Regions from separate parts of the Homo sapiens genome. Here region 1 is linked to region 2. Evidence: promoter capture Hi-C in 16 types of primary human blood cells and fetal thymus (Javierre and others, 2016). All regions are on one chromosome and are shown on one strand. Each heading gives the region's core, a stretch centred on a gene start or on the middle of the fragment in contact. The rest is flanking DNA. Distances are from core to core; before and after follow the strand shown. Region 1 holds the start of GNB2 (G protein subunit beta 2). Region 2 holds the start of LAMTOR4 (late endosomal/lysosomal adaptor, MAPK and MTOR activator 4).

Region 1 (6,854 bases), core at 1-2,500, 520 kb before region 2:
GACATTTCCCCTCCTTGTAAGTTCAGCTTTCTACGCCAGTGCCAAGGGGTGACCCTCAAAATCGGGGGATGGGGGGTGCGGGCAGAACTCCTTACTCTACCCAACCCCCAGGCCCGCACAAAGCCTCTTCCACCTACTAGCAGCCCAGGCCTGGCGGCACCGCCGGAGGCCCAGGGCAGAAGGAAGCACGGCTGGAGGAAGAAACTGGGGGCGGGGGCGACGTTCTCAGCCCTCGGTCCCCATCACCCCCCAGGGCCCTCAGCAGCCCCCAGACTCTAGGGATATAGCAGCCGGCGCTCCATAGAGAAATGAGGGTGCAACCGCCTCCGCAGGTCTGGCGGGGCTCAGGAGAGTGACGGGAGGGTCCCTGGATCTGGCAGCTGGAAGGCGCGGGCTGGTGCGGCGCTGCGAAGCGCAGTGGGCCTGGCCCTCCAGCCCCTACGACCTCCATTTTGCCTAAAAGAAAGCTGGGCGGGGGGCGGGCGCCTGGGAGCTGGGCTTGGGGTGAGGATCTGTAAAGGGAATAGGGCGCCGAGGGCTCCAGTTTCGGCGAGTGGGGCCAGAAACCACGGGCAGCACCCAAATCGTGGGTAGGGTGGAGACGAAAGGAAGGGTGGCGCGCGGCCTTGCCTGCTTCTCCCCGATTTTGGAGTTGTGCAAGGCGAGGGCCGGCAGGGGTGCGACAGTGGAGGACACGAGGGGTGCTCCCCGGGGGCAGGCGGGAGGGTGGCGGTGGGGAAAGGGGGCGGGGCGGGGCCTAGAGGAAGCCCGGAATTTAGCCCCCCAACTTCCGAGGGAGCAAGAGGCAGTCGGGGCTGGGCTGGGGTCTGGGGTCGGGCAAAAACTTCGCTGATGGTGCGGGGAAGCGCACGCACGGTGGGGGGCGAGGGTTCCCCAGTTCCCCTTCCGGGTTTGGGAGCGACCGGGCAAGAGGGGAAGGGAGCGGAGGTCTGGGGAGTTACGTCCGCTCCCAGGAGGCCAGCCCCGGGAGACCGAAGGAAGAGAGGTTCCCCTGGGGGAAATTGGGGCTGGGGGGCGAGAGGACTCCTTTTGCCAGCGAAGGTACCTGTGGCGGTGGGACTCTGCGGCGGAGGTCGCTGGCGGTGCGCGGGCGGCGCTGTCTTCCTCCGCGGCGGAGGCGGCGGCGGCGGCGGCGGCGGCGGCGGCGGCGGCGCGGATGGATTTCCTCAGTGGCCCCAGCCCCGCCGCCAGCGCTGCCTCCCCAGAGCGGAGGGATCCCGCCCGCCAGTGACGCGGCTGCCGCCGCCGCGCCCAGGACCCGGCTGGGCGAGACCAACTGCCTCGCACTTGGGGGAAGCCAGGAGACAAAACCCCACCGAGGGAGCAAAGACGGGCCCAGTCGCTCCCAAGGTTCTCACCCTACGCTTTGTGGACGCAAACCGTACTCAAAGGGTTTGCTTCACGGAAAGGAGTAAGACATCCCCCCTCTGGGACTGGAGGAGGTGGTACTGGCATATGAGGAGGGTGAGACCGCTCGCTGGTCACGTGATCAGCCTCCCGCCCCGCCTGGAATGGGTGGCTCCAGACTGGGAAGGGGAGTTCGACGCCCCAGTTCCCGGTTGGGCCACGCCCCGGCCCTGAGGAGGCCACGCCCCTCACCAGGGGGCGGAGCTAAAGAGACCTGGACGGGGCCGGCCTCGAGGCTGCTGGAAGAAGAAGCGCGATTCCGAGAAAGTCCCCGAGCGGGAGTGGGTAGGGGCTGATGCGGGCGCCCCGGGAATGCCATGAGAAGGGTCGTGTCCAGGCATTTCCTCAGCCTCGCCCACTGGGCCTTTGTAGACCCCCTTTCAGGGCTTGCCACTGAAATAACAACTCATTTATTGAGAGCCACACTTTTTTTTTTTGAGACGGAGTCTCTCTCTGTCGCCCAGGCTGGAGTGCTATCTCAACTCACTGCAACCTCCGCCGCCCGGGTGCAAGCGATTCTCCTGCCTCAGCCTCCTGAGTAGCTGGGACTACAGGCGTGTGCCACCACACCCGGCTAATTTTTTGTATTTTTAGTAGAGACGGGGTTTCACGGTGTTAGCCAGGATGGTCTCCATCTCCTGACCTCGTGATCTGCCTGTCTCGGCCTCCCAAAGTGCTGGGATTACAGGCGTGAGCCACCGCGCCTGGCCCGACACTTATTTTTTAATTGGAGTACAGTGACGCGATTGTAGGTCACTGCCACCTCAATCTCCTCGGCTCAAGTGATCTTCCTGCCTCAGCCTCCCTAGTACCTGGGACCACAGGCGTGCCCCAGCCACCATGCCCAGCTAATTTTTAAATTTTTGGTAGAGGTGGGGTCTTGCTATGCTGCCCAGGCTGACATATGTTAAGTCTCACAATACTGGGAAATTAAGTGCTAACATTCTCCCCATTTTCTTTTCTTTTCTTTTTTTTTTTTTTGGAGACAGGGTCTCACTCTGTCGCCCAGGCTGAAGTGCAGTGGCATGATCTCGGCTCACTGCAACCTCCGCCTCCTGGGTTCAGGCGATTCTCCTGCCTCAGCCTCTGGAGTAGGTGGGATTACAGGCGCCCGCCACCATGCCCAGCTAATTTTTTTTTGTATTTTTAGTAGAGACGAGGTTTCACCATGTCGGCCAGGCTGGTCTCAAACTCCTGACCTCAGGTGATGTGCCCGTCTCGGCCTCCCAAAGTGCTGGGATTACAGGCGTGAGCCACCGCGCCCAGCCTTCTCCCCATTTTCTAATAGTGGAAAGAGACCTGAGGCTGCAGAGTTTAGATATGAACCCAGGCAGCCAAAACTTTACTGTACATTCCAGTTTATCTGTATGAGCCTCTAGATGAACCCCTTCCTCCAGGGACCTTGCCTGTAAAGGGACAAGAACGTAGGTCTAGGCCTCAGTTTCCACATCTGTTAAATGGGGATGTTGACAGCATCTGCCCTCCAAGTCCCGGATTCTTACTGAGAACCCCATCGATTGTGGAAATGCTTTGGGAAGTTCAAGGCAACGAATAGCCTTCACTGAGTCCTTGTAATTTGAAAGTATCAAAACACGCAGCCATAAGAAAGAACGAGATGGGGCTCACGCCTGTAATCCTAGCACTGTGAGAGGCCGAGGCGGGTGGATCACTTGAGGTCAGGAGTTTGAGACAAGCCTGGCCAATATGGTGAAACCCCGTCTCTGCTAAAAATACAAACATTAGCTGGGCGTGGTGGCACACACCTGTAATCCCAGCTACTCAGGAGGCTGAGGCAGGAGAATTGCTTGAACCCGGGAGGCGGAGGTTGCAGTGAGCCAAAATCACACCACTCACTGCACTCCGGCCTGGGCAACAGAGCAAGACTTTGACTCAAGAAGAAGAAAGAAAGACAAAAGAAGAAAAAGTAAAAGAAAGAAAAGGAGGGAAGGAAGGGAAGGAAAGAAAAAAAGAAAGGAAAGAGAAAGGAAGAGAGAAAAAAGAAGAAATCATGTCCTTTGCAGCAACATGGATGCAGAAAAGAGAGAGAGAGAGAAAGAGAAAGAAAAGAGAGAAGGAAGGAAGGGAAAGAAAGAAAGAAGAAACAAAAGAAAAGAAAAGAAGAAGAAATCGTGTCCTTTGCAGTAACATGGATGCAGCTAGAGGCTTTTATCCTAAGTGGATAAATTTCTGCAGGAACAGAAAACCAAACACTGCATGTTCTCACTTATAAGTAGGAGCTAAACACTGGGTACTCATGAACATAAAGATGGGAACAATAGACACGGGGGATTACTAGAGGGGGGAAGGGTTGAAAAACTACCTATTGGGTACTGTACCCCAGGTGACGGGATCAATTGTACCCCAAACTTCAGCATCACAAGATATACCCATGTACATGGGTACATTCATGTGCACATGAGTCAGAATCTAAAAAGATGAAATTATATTTTAAAAAGTATCAAAACATACTCTTCATTTAGTCTCTGTGAAAGACATTACAAATCACTTTTCAAAAACAATTGTTTTTTCTTTTTTCTTTTTTTTTTTTTTCTGAAATGGAGTCTTGCTCTGTCACCCAGAGCTGGAGTGCAATGGCACAATCTCGGCTTACTGCAACCTCTGCCTCTTGGGTTCAAGCGATTCTCCTGTCTCAGCCTCCCGAGTAGCTGGGATTATAGGAGCATGCCACCAGGCCTGGCTAATTTTTGCATTTTTAGCAGAGATGGGGTTTCATGTTGGCCAGGTTGGTCTTGAACTCCTGACCTCGTGATCTGCCCGCCTCGGCCTCCCAAAGTGCTGGGATTACAGATGTCAGCCACCGTGCCCAGCCTACAATTGTTTTTTCCAAATCGAATATGTTATGAACATAGTAGTTGTCTTTGTAATGGGTACACACACTCACACACACAGAATGATCTGCCTGGTGGGGCAGGGAATTGTAAACATGCCAAAGGGAAAATGAAAAAAGAATCCTGTAGGTTTTCATTATTTTAGGCAATTATGTCCATATCACTTACAAAGCTATTGCCAAATCTGTCTAAGGAAGCAGAGTTTGAAGGTGGGCCGGGGGGGACATCTGGGAGAAATTCGAAAATGGCATAACAGAGCTCTCAATATGAGAAACAAAAGCCCAATATTTTTTTAAAGAAAATATAAACAATCGTATTCGTAGTTAGATGCAAATTCTATTTATGCATACCTGCCAATTCAGTGACATATAAGCAATAGATAACAGATGTCAACTACACATGAGAATTTGGGAGGGACCTCAGAGATAATTACGTTGATTTCCTCAATCTGTAGATGGCCACGATGACTTCCCTAAAGTCACTTAACAACAAGCAGCGCAGGACTACAGCACAATTTTGTCAATCTCAAGAGGGCATGTGTGCTGCTTTGGTTTCTGTGCTAATAAGCTTTCCTGTTTTAACTCATTCCGTTGATATTTACTGAACCGGATGATGTATCAGGCACTGCCCTAGGCAATGAGGATGCAACCTTGAATGACAGGTGCACCCTCCTCATGGAGCTTGCAATCTATAGAGGAGGCAGATGGGCATTGAAATATGGATTAGGGTCAGGCGTGGTGGCTCACACCTGTAATCCCAGCATTTTGGGAGGCAGAGGTGGGCGGATCACTTGAGTCCAGGAGTTCAAGACCAGCCTGGGCAACATAGCAAGACTACGTCGTTAAAAAAAAAAGAGAGAGAAAGAAAGAAATACATGGTGGCGTGCGCCTGTAGTCCCAGCTACTCGGAAGGCTGAGGTGGGAAGATGACTTGAACTCCTGAGGCAAAGGTTGTGGTGAGCTGAATTTCTGCCACCGCACTCCAGCCTGGGTGACAGAGCCAGGCCCTGTCTCAAAACAAAACAAAACAAAACAAACAAACAAAAATGAAAAAATAACAGTGCTTGGCCTGGAGGTATTGTTTACTTCGAGCAGAACATTTGAGATGGAACATATTCTGGGAGGAAGATCAAGAGTTTAAGATTGGGAAGTTTTAGGTTTGAAGTGCCTATGGAGAAAATTTTTTTTGGTGTTTTTGGTTTTGTTTTTTTTGAGACAGGGTCTCACTCTGTCACCAAGACTGGAGTGCAGTGGCGCAATCACAGCTTGCTGCAGCCTCGACCTCCTGGGCTGAGATGATCCTCTCACCTCAGCCTCCCCAGTAGATGGAACTACTGGTGCACACCACCATGCCTGGCTAATTTTTTGTATTTTTTTTTGTAGAGACAGGGTTTTGTCATGTTGCCCAGGCTGGTCTCGAACTCCTGGCCTCAAGCGATCCGCCAGCCTCAGCCTCCCAAAGTGCTGGGATTACCGGTGTGAGCCACCGCACTCAGCCGGATCTCGCTCTGTCGCCCAGGCTGTAGTGCAGTGGCGCAATCTCGGCCCACTGCAACCTCTGCCTCCTGGGTTCAAGTGATTTTCCTGCCTCAGCCTCCTGAGTAGCTGCGACTACAGATACGTGCCACCAGGCCCGGCTAATTTTTTGTATTTTTAGTAGAGACGGGGTTTCACCGTGTTAGCAAGGATGGTCTCGATCTCCTTACCTCGTGATCCACCTGCCTCAGCCTCCCAAAGTGCTGGGATTACAGGCGTGAGCCACTGTGCCCGGCCTCTTTTTTTGTTTTTTTTAACTTTTATTTTAGATTCACGGGGTACGTGTGCAGGTTTGTTATATGGGTAAATTGTGTGACACTGAGGTTTGGAATACGATTGATCCCATCACCCATGTAATGAGCACGGTACCCAATAGGTAGTTTTTCTTTTTCTTTTTTTCTTTGAGACAGGGTCTTGCTCTGTTGCCCAGGCTGGAGTGCAATGGCACGATCTCAGCTCACTGCAACCTCCGCCTCCTGGGTTCAAGTGGTTCGTCTGCCTCAGCCTCCCAAGTAGCTAGGATTACAGGTGTGCACCACCACACCTGGCTAATTTTTGTATTTTAAGTAGAGATGGGGTTTCGCCATGATAGCCAGGCTGGTCTTGAACTCCTGGCCTCAAGTGATCTACCTGCCTTGGCCTCCCAAAGTGCTGGGATTACAGGCGTGAGCCACCATGCCTGGCCCCATTAGGTATTAATAGTTTTCAACCCTTGCCCCATCTTCTTCCTTCTTCCCCCTAGTGGTCCCCAGTGTCTATTGATGCCGTCTTTATGTCCATGAGTACCCAATGTTTAGCTCCTGTTTACAAGTGAGAACATATGGTATTTGGTTTTCTGTTCCTGCTCTAAATTCACTTAAGAGAATGGACTCCAGCTGCATCCATGTTGCTGCAAAAAACATGTTTCTTTGTTTCTTCATTTTGTTTCTTTTTATGGCTGCATAGTATTCCATAACATACATGTACCATTTTCTTTATCCAGTCCACCATTGATGGGCACCTAAGCTGAGTTCATGTCTTTGCTCTTGTGAATAGTGCTGCA
Region 2 (5,918 bases), core at 1,425-3,924:
ATGGTGAAACCCCATCTCTACTAAAAATACAAAAAAGTAGCCGGGCATGGTGGCGGGCGCCTGTAGTCCCAGCTACTAGGGAGGCTGAGGCAGGAGAATGGCGTGAACCCGGGAGGCGGAGCTTGCAGTGAGGGGAGACTGCACCACTGCACTCCAGCCTGGGTGACAGAGTGAGACTCCGTCTCAAAAAAAACAAAAACAAAAACAAAAAAACAGGCCGGGTGCAGTGGCTTATGCCTGTAATCCCAGCACTTTGGGTGGGAGGCTGAGGCGGGCAAATCATGAGGTCAGGAGTTCGAGACCAGCCCGGCCAACATGGTGAAACCCTCTCTCTACTAAAAATACAAAAATTAGCTGGGCATGGTGGTGCACACCTGTAATCCTAGCTAATCAGGAGGCTGAGGCAGGAAAATCACTTGAACCCGGAAGACGGAGGTTGCAGTGAGCTGAGATCATGCCACTGCACTCCAGCCTGGGCCACAGAGCGAGACTCTGTCTCAAAAAACAAAAACAAAAAAAAACAAAAACAAAACTCTTCTCTCCTTGCTCCTCCTTCTTACCACCACTTGCCCAGTCTCATCTCTTTTTTTTTTTGTTTTTTTTGAGACGGAGTCTTGCTCTGTCGCCCAGGCTGGAGTACAGTGGTGTGATCTCGGCTAACTGCAACCTCCACCTTCCAGGTTCACGCCATTCTACTGCCTCAGCTTCCCGAGTAGCTGGGACTACAAGTGCCCGCCACCAGGCCTGGCTAATTTTGTTTTTGTATTTTTAGTACAGACGGGGTTTCACCGTGTTGGCCAGGATGGTCTCGATCTCCTGACCTCGTGATCCGCCCGCCTTGGCCTCCCAAAGTGCTAGAATTACAGGCATGAACCACCACGCCCAGCCCAGTCTCATCTCTTAATGACGCCTCCTTCTGCCCATCTTCACATCACTAACAACAATATTGCTCAACCACCTCACTGGGTCTTGTTTCTGTTTTAAAAAACCTTTCAAACTGTATTACCTTCAAGAATAAGTTCAAGTGTGTTAACCTGGCCTTGAAGATCCTTCACAATTACATCCTCCCTGACCATATCCTCCTCTCTTCCCTCAAACCTTCCCAAATCTTTTCAGCATAAACTTACCATCAGTTCAGATAGGTTAGTGCCACACACCTGCAAATAAGTCCTCCCCCACTGTAAATACTCTCCTTTAAGGTGGGCTGAATTCCTACCTCCCGGAAAGTTAGTTACCTTGTCATAACATGTTGAATTTTTAATATCCTGGATTCCCTCAATAGTCTTTACCACCTGTATTGTTTTCAACCCTTAACCTTAAGCTTTGTCTCTACCTAAGTCAAAAACATCTGGAGACTTAACACTATACAGTACTATGGAACAAAATACAAATGCCTCTTTAAGAAATACCAAATAAAGGCCAGACGTGGTGGCTCACGCCTGTAATCTAGAGACCTAACACCATACAGTACTATGGAACAAAATACAAATGCCTTTTTAAGAAATACCAAATAAAGGCCAGGCATGTTGGCTCACGCCTGTAATCCCAGCACTTTGGGAGGCTGAGGCAGGTGGATCACCTGAGGTCAGGAGTTTGAGACCAGCCTGGCTAACACGGTGAAACCCCGTTTCTACTAAAAATACAAAAAATTAGCAGAGCATGGTGGCACGTGCCTATAATCCCAGCTACTCGGGAGGCTGAGGCAGGAGAATCGCTTGAACCCCGGAGGCGGAGGTTGCAGTGAGCCGAGGTCGCACCACTGCACTCCAGCTTGGGCAACAAGAACGAAACTCAGTCTCAAAAACTATAAATAAATAAATCGCAGCCGTTAGGAGACTAAGATTCCACAGACTGATTACTGAAAGTAATTGCAAAAACTGCAAATACTTTTGTACCAACCTAATAGATGCCAGGCAGGAAACCAGATAAAAGCCGAGAAAAGAAGGGCCAATATTAGAAGGGGTTACCGGGCTGTGTGCACTAAGGGACCCCCTCCCTTTCCCAGAACGCACCGCCAGCACTGCACCTTCACTCAGTACCAGGTAGCCGAGCTGGTCTGGGATTCGCTCCAGCCCCTGGGTCAGCGCAGAAGTCTAGTGGGTAAAGATGCAAGTCGTGAGAAGCATGCTAGAGGGATGGACGGCCCGATACCCTTCACCTGCAAACCCAAGTCTCTGGGTTGACGATGGCCCCAGGTTTTCTCATTCCCCAGCCAGGTCCCTTCCCGGCCCCCTCCCCCCTACATGGTCCTCAATACTGATCTTCCCGAGCCTCCATCTGCCCCCACTCTCGCCCCCGGGCTCCCCTGGCCTTCCACATCCCACCTTTGCTACCCCAAGGGGCCTTTGCTGCCCCACTGGCCCCTGCCCCCAGACCCTCTCTTCACCTCCCTTCGTCTCCGCCCGACCTGCAGACTACCCGCAGCCCCAGAACACCCTCCCACAGACCCCTCCCCAGCATTCTCGTCGCCATCCCTCCCATTTCCATCCCCTCTTCCTCCCCGAGCGGATAGGAGGTGAGGGTGGAGCGCAGGCCCACCAGGGGGAAACCACACAGACTGGGGAGCAGAGACGCTGAACCCCCGGCGGGTCCTCTCGCGCATGCGTCCTCACTCACCATCGCAGTCTTCGGTGCTGGGGGAGCTCCCTACCAGATAGGTAGCTTCCGGCTTCAGGCCCCGGTCACGTGCTTGCAGCCGCTGCGCTCCTCCTTCTGCTTGCGCCACTGGCCTTTAGCCCCGCCTCTAGCATGAGGATTGGACAGTGGCCACGTCGTCAGACCCAACCAGCCAGTGCGAAGCGCTGTTTCCCGGAGGCGCACGTTGATTGGTGATATCCCCTCTTTAACACCCATCTCCCCGCCCCTCAGTGCCTGAGCGAGAGGAAGACGCGGGAGCGTCCGAGGAGGGGAGGATCTGGGAGGGGCGGGAGTAGGCCGGGGTTGACCGTTTGGTCCTGGGCGCACTGTCTGGAGCCAGAGTTCCGCCTGAGCCAGGATGCCCGCTGGTGTGACCCCCCCAAATGAATCCCTTCCCAGGTTTAAGACTGGACCCAAAAACTAGAGAATAAAAGGAAATAACGTGCAATGCATGTGAAAAACTATTCAAGGCTGGGCGCCGTGGCTCACGCCTGTAATCTCAGCGCTTTGCGAGGCCGAGGACGGATCATTTCAGGGCAAGAGTTCGAGACGAGCCTGAGCAACATAGCGAGACCCTCCCCAGTCCCCCCGCTCCAACCACCTCTACAAAAAAATAAGAAAATAAGCCGGGCATGGTGCCTCACGCCAGTAATTCCAGCTACTAGGGAGGCTGATGGAGGAGAATCTCTTGAGCTCAGCAGTTGCAGAGTGCAGTGAGCTATTATGGTGCCACTGCACTCCAGCCTGGGTGCCCTTCCTCTAAAAAAAAAAGAAAAGAAAAGGAAAAAAAAGGTACTCAAATGCTACTTTTTTTTTTTTTTGAGTCGGAGTCTCACTCGGTCGCCCAGGTTGCAGTGCAATGGCGCGATCTCTGGCTCAATACAACTTCCGCCTCCCGTGTTCAAGCAATTCTCCTGCCTCAGCCTCGCGAGTAGCTGGGATTACAGGCGCCCACCACCACGCCCGGCTATTTTTGTGTTTTTAGTAGAGATAGGGTTTCACCATATTGGCCAGGCTGGTCTCAAACTCCTGACCTCGTGATCCGCCCGCCTCGGCCTCCCAAAGTGCTGGGATTACAGGCTTGAGCCACCGCGTCCGGCCCTCAAATGCTACTTTTGTGCCTACTCAAGACAGCTCTTTGTTGAAGACAAGAATTTGTTCCCGAAGTGGTTTTTTTGTCCCCAGATTCAGTCCGGGACAATGTGGTGGTAAATAGAATCCCCAGCTAGCCAATGCAGCTGCAATACTGAATATTCATTCCCTACAGGAAAAAATTAGAAACAGTACCTTGGAATGATACACACACACACACACACACACACACACACACACATCACACAATATATGTAAACATTAGAAATTTTTGTTTTAAATAATTTCTAAACCTGTTGCCATATTAATGTGGTGGAGGCTGTGTTAGTGAAATAATATGAAGAATGATTCTAGAAGCCTGGGCAACATAGCAAGACCCCATCTCTAAAAATTTAAAAATTAACCAGGCATGATACTGCACATGTAGTCCCAGCTACCCGGGAGGCTGAGGTGGGAGAATCGCTTGAGCCCAGGAGGTTGAGGCTGCAGTGAGCCATGATCATGCTACTGCACTCAAGACTGGGTAAAAGAGCAAGATTGTCTCAAAAAGCAACAAAAAAATCTGAATATAATAACAATTGTTAAAGTCTGGGTGTCTTTTAAGACTTGTTAGAAACAGCAATTTCAAGGCTGGGCGTGGTAGCTCACACCTGTAATCCCAGCACTTTGGGAGACCAAGGCGGGTGGATCACCTGAAGTCAGGAGTTCGAGACCTGCCTGGCCAACATGGTGAAACCTCATCACTACTAAAAATACAAAACAAACAAACAAAAAAAAAAAAAACTAGGTGGGTGTGGTGGTGCATGCCTGTAATCCCAGCTACTGGGGAGGCTGAGGCAGGAGAATCCTTGAATCCAGGAGGCGAAGGTTGCAATGAGCTGAGATTGTGCCATTGCACTCCAACCTGGGCAACAAGAATGAAACTCCGTCTCAAAAGAAAAAAAAAAGATTTTGATGTAATAAATTATGGTGGCAGTATTCTTGATATTTAACCATCTTTGTGTTTCTGGAATAAAATCTGCTGGAACAAATTATACTACCCATTTGTTTTACTGCTTTATTTAGAATTTTTAAAATCTATTATGATAAATGAGATTGGGCTGTAGTTTCTTTTTGGTATATTCTTTATCTGCTTTTGGTAGAAAGAGCAGGTTGCCAGATAAAATGAATCAGAGAGTTTCCTATCTTTTTTATCTATGGTCTGCAAATCAAACTGGTTGGACCAACTCACACTCCTCTAGCAATGTGTCAGAGTTCCCAGTTATCTCCAGCTCCATTAACACATGGTATTGCCACACTTTTTGTTTTTTGTTTTTTTTTTGAGACAGTCTTGTTCTGTTGCCCAGGCTGGAGTGCAGTGGCGCAATCTCAGCTCACTGCAACCTCCACCTCCTGGTTCCCGGGTTCAAGCAATTCTTCTGCCTCAGCCTCCCGAGTAGCTGGGACTACAGGAGCGCACCACCACACCCAGCTAATTTTTGTATTTTTAGTAGAGATGGGTTTCACCATGTTGGCCAGGATAGTCTTGATCTCTTGACCTCGTGATCTGCCTGCATCAGCCTCCCAAAGTGTTGGGATTACAGGCCTGAGCCACCATGCCCAGCCAGTATTGCCACACTTTTAGGGTAAAGTTTTTGGATATGCGATGGCTTCTCATTGTAGTTTTTATTTGCATTTACCTAAATATTAATGAGGTTGATCACATTTTCAGACAGGTTTGGCTTTTGGGATATCATCTTTTGTGAAGTATCAGTTCAACTTTTTTTTTTTTTTGAGACAGAGTCTTGCTATGTTGCCCAGGCTGGAGTGCAATGGTGCGCTCTTGGCTCACTGCAACCTCCGCCTCCTGGATTCAAGCAATTCCCTTGCCTCAGCCTCCCAAGTAGCTGGGACTACAGGGGCACGTTGCCATCCCGGCTTTTTTTTTTGTATTTTTAGTAGAGACGGGGTTTCACCGTGTTGCCCAGGCTGGTCTTGAACTCCTGAGCTCAGAGCAATCCACCTGCCTCGGCCTCCCAAAGTGCTACGATTACAGGCATGAGCCACTGCAACTGGCTTATTTATTTATTTTTTTTTTGAGATAGTCTTCCTCTGTTGCCCAGGCTAGAGAGCGGTGGTGCGATCTCGGCCCACTGCAACCTCCACCTCCCAGGTTCAAGCAATCCTCCTGCCTCAGCCTCCCGAGTAGC

The links. Contacts are between HindIII fragments. The CHiCAGO score rates a contact against its expected background, and 5 or more counts as called.
Region 1: the fragment with the promoter of GNB2 here is called in contact with the fragment with the promoter of LAMTOR4 in region 2 in 3 of 17 cell types (total B cells, neutrophils and monocytes); the score reaches 6.3 in total B cells.

What each region holds. Positions count from the first base shown.
Region 1 is chr7:100,668,136-100,674,989 of GRCh38, reverse strand. It overlaps GNB2 (G protein subunit beta 2), which reads right to left and starts at 1,250. Exons shown (of 10, transcript NM_005273.4): 1 at 1,067-1,250. RefSeq lists enhancers at 151-230, 431-640 and silencers at 1,071-1,250, 1,501-1,580, 1,591-1,720. The HindIII fragment of the contact is 20,016 bases long and covers 1-4,846 here.
Region 2 is chr7:100,145,674-100,151,591 of GRCh38, reverse strand. LAMTOR4 (late endosomal/lysosomal adaptor, MAPK and MTOR activator 4) reads right to left here and starts at 2,674. Exons shown (of 4, transcript NM_001008395.4): 1 at 2,617-2,674; 2 at 2,013-2,093. The coding sequence starts at 2,619. RefSeq lists silencers at 2,105-2,194, 2,205-2,294 and enhancers at 1,834-2,446, 2,595-2,704, 2,975-3,034, 3,059-3,671. The HindIII fragment of the contact is 7,868 bases long and covers 1,324-5,918 here.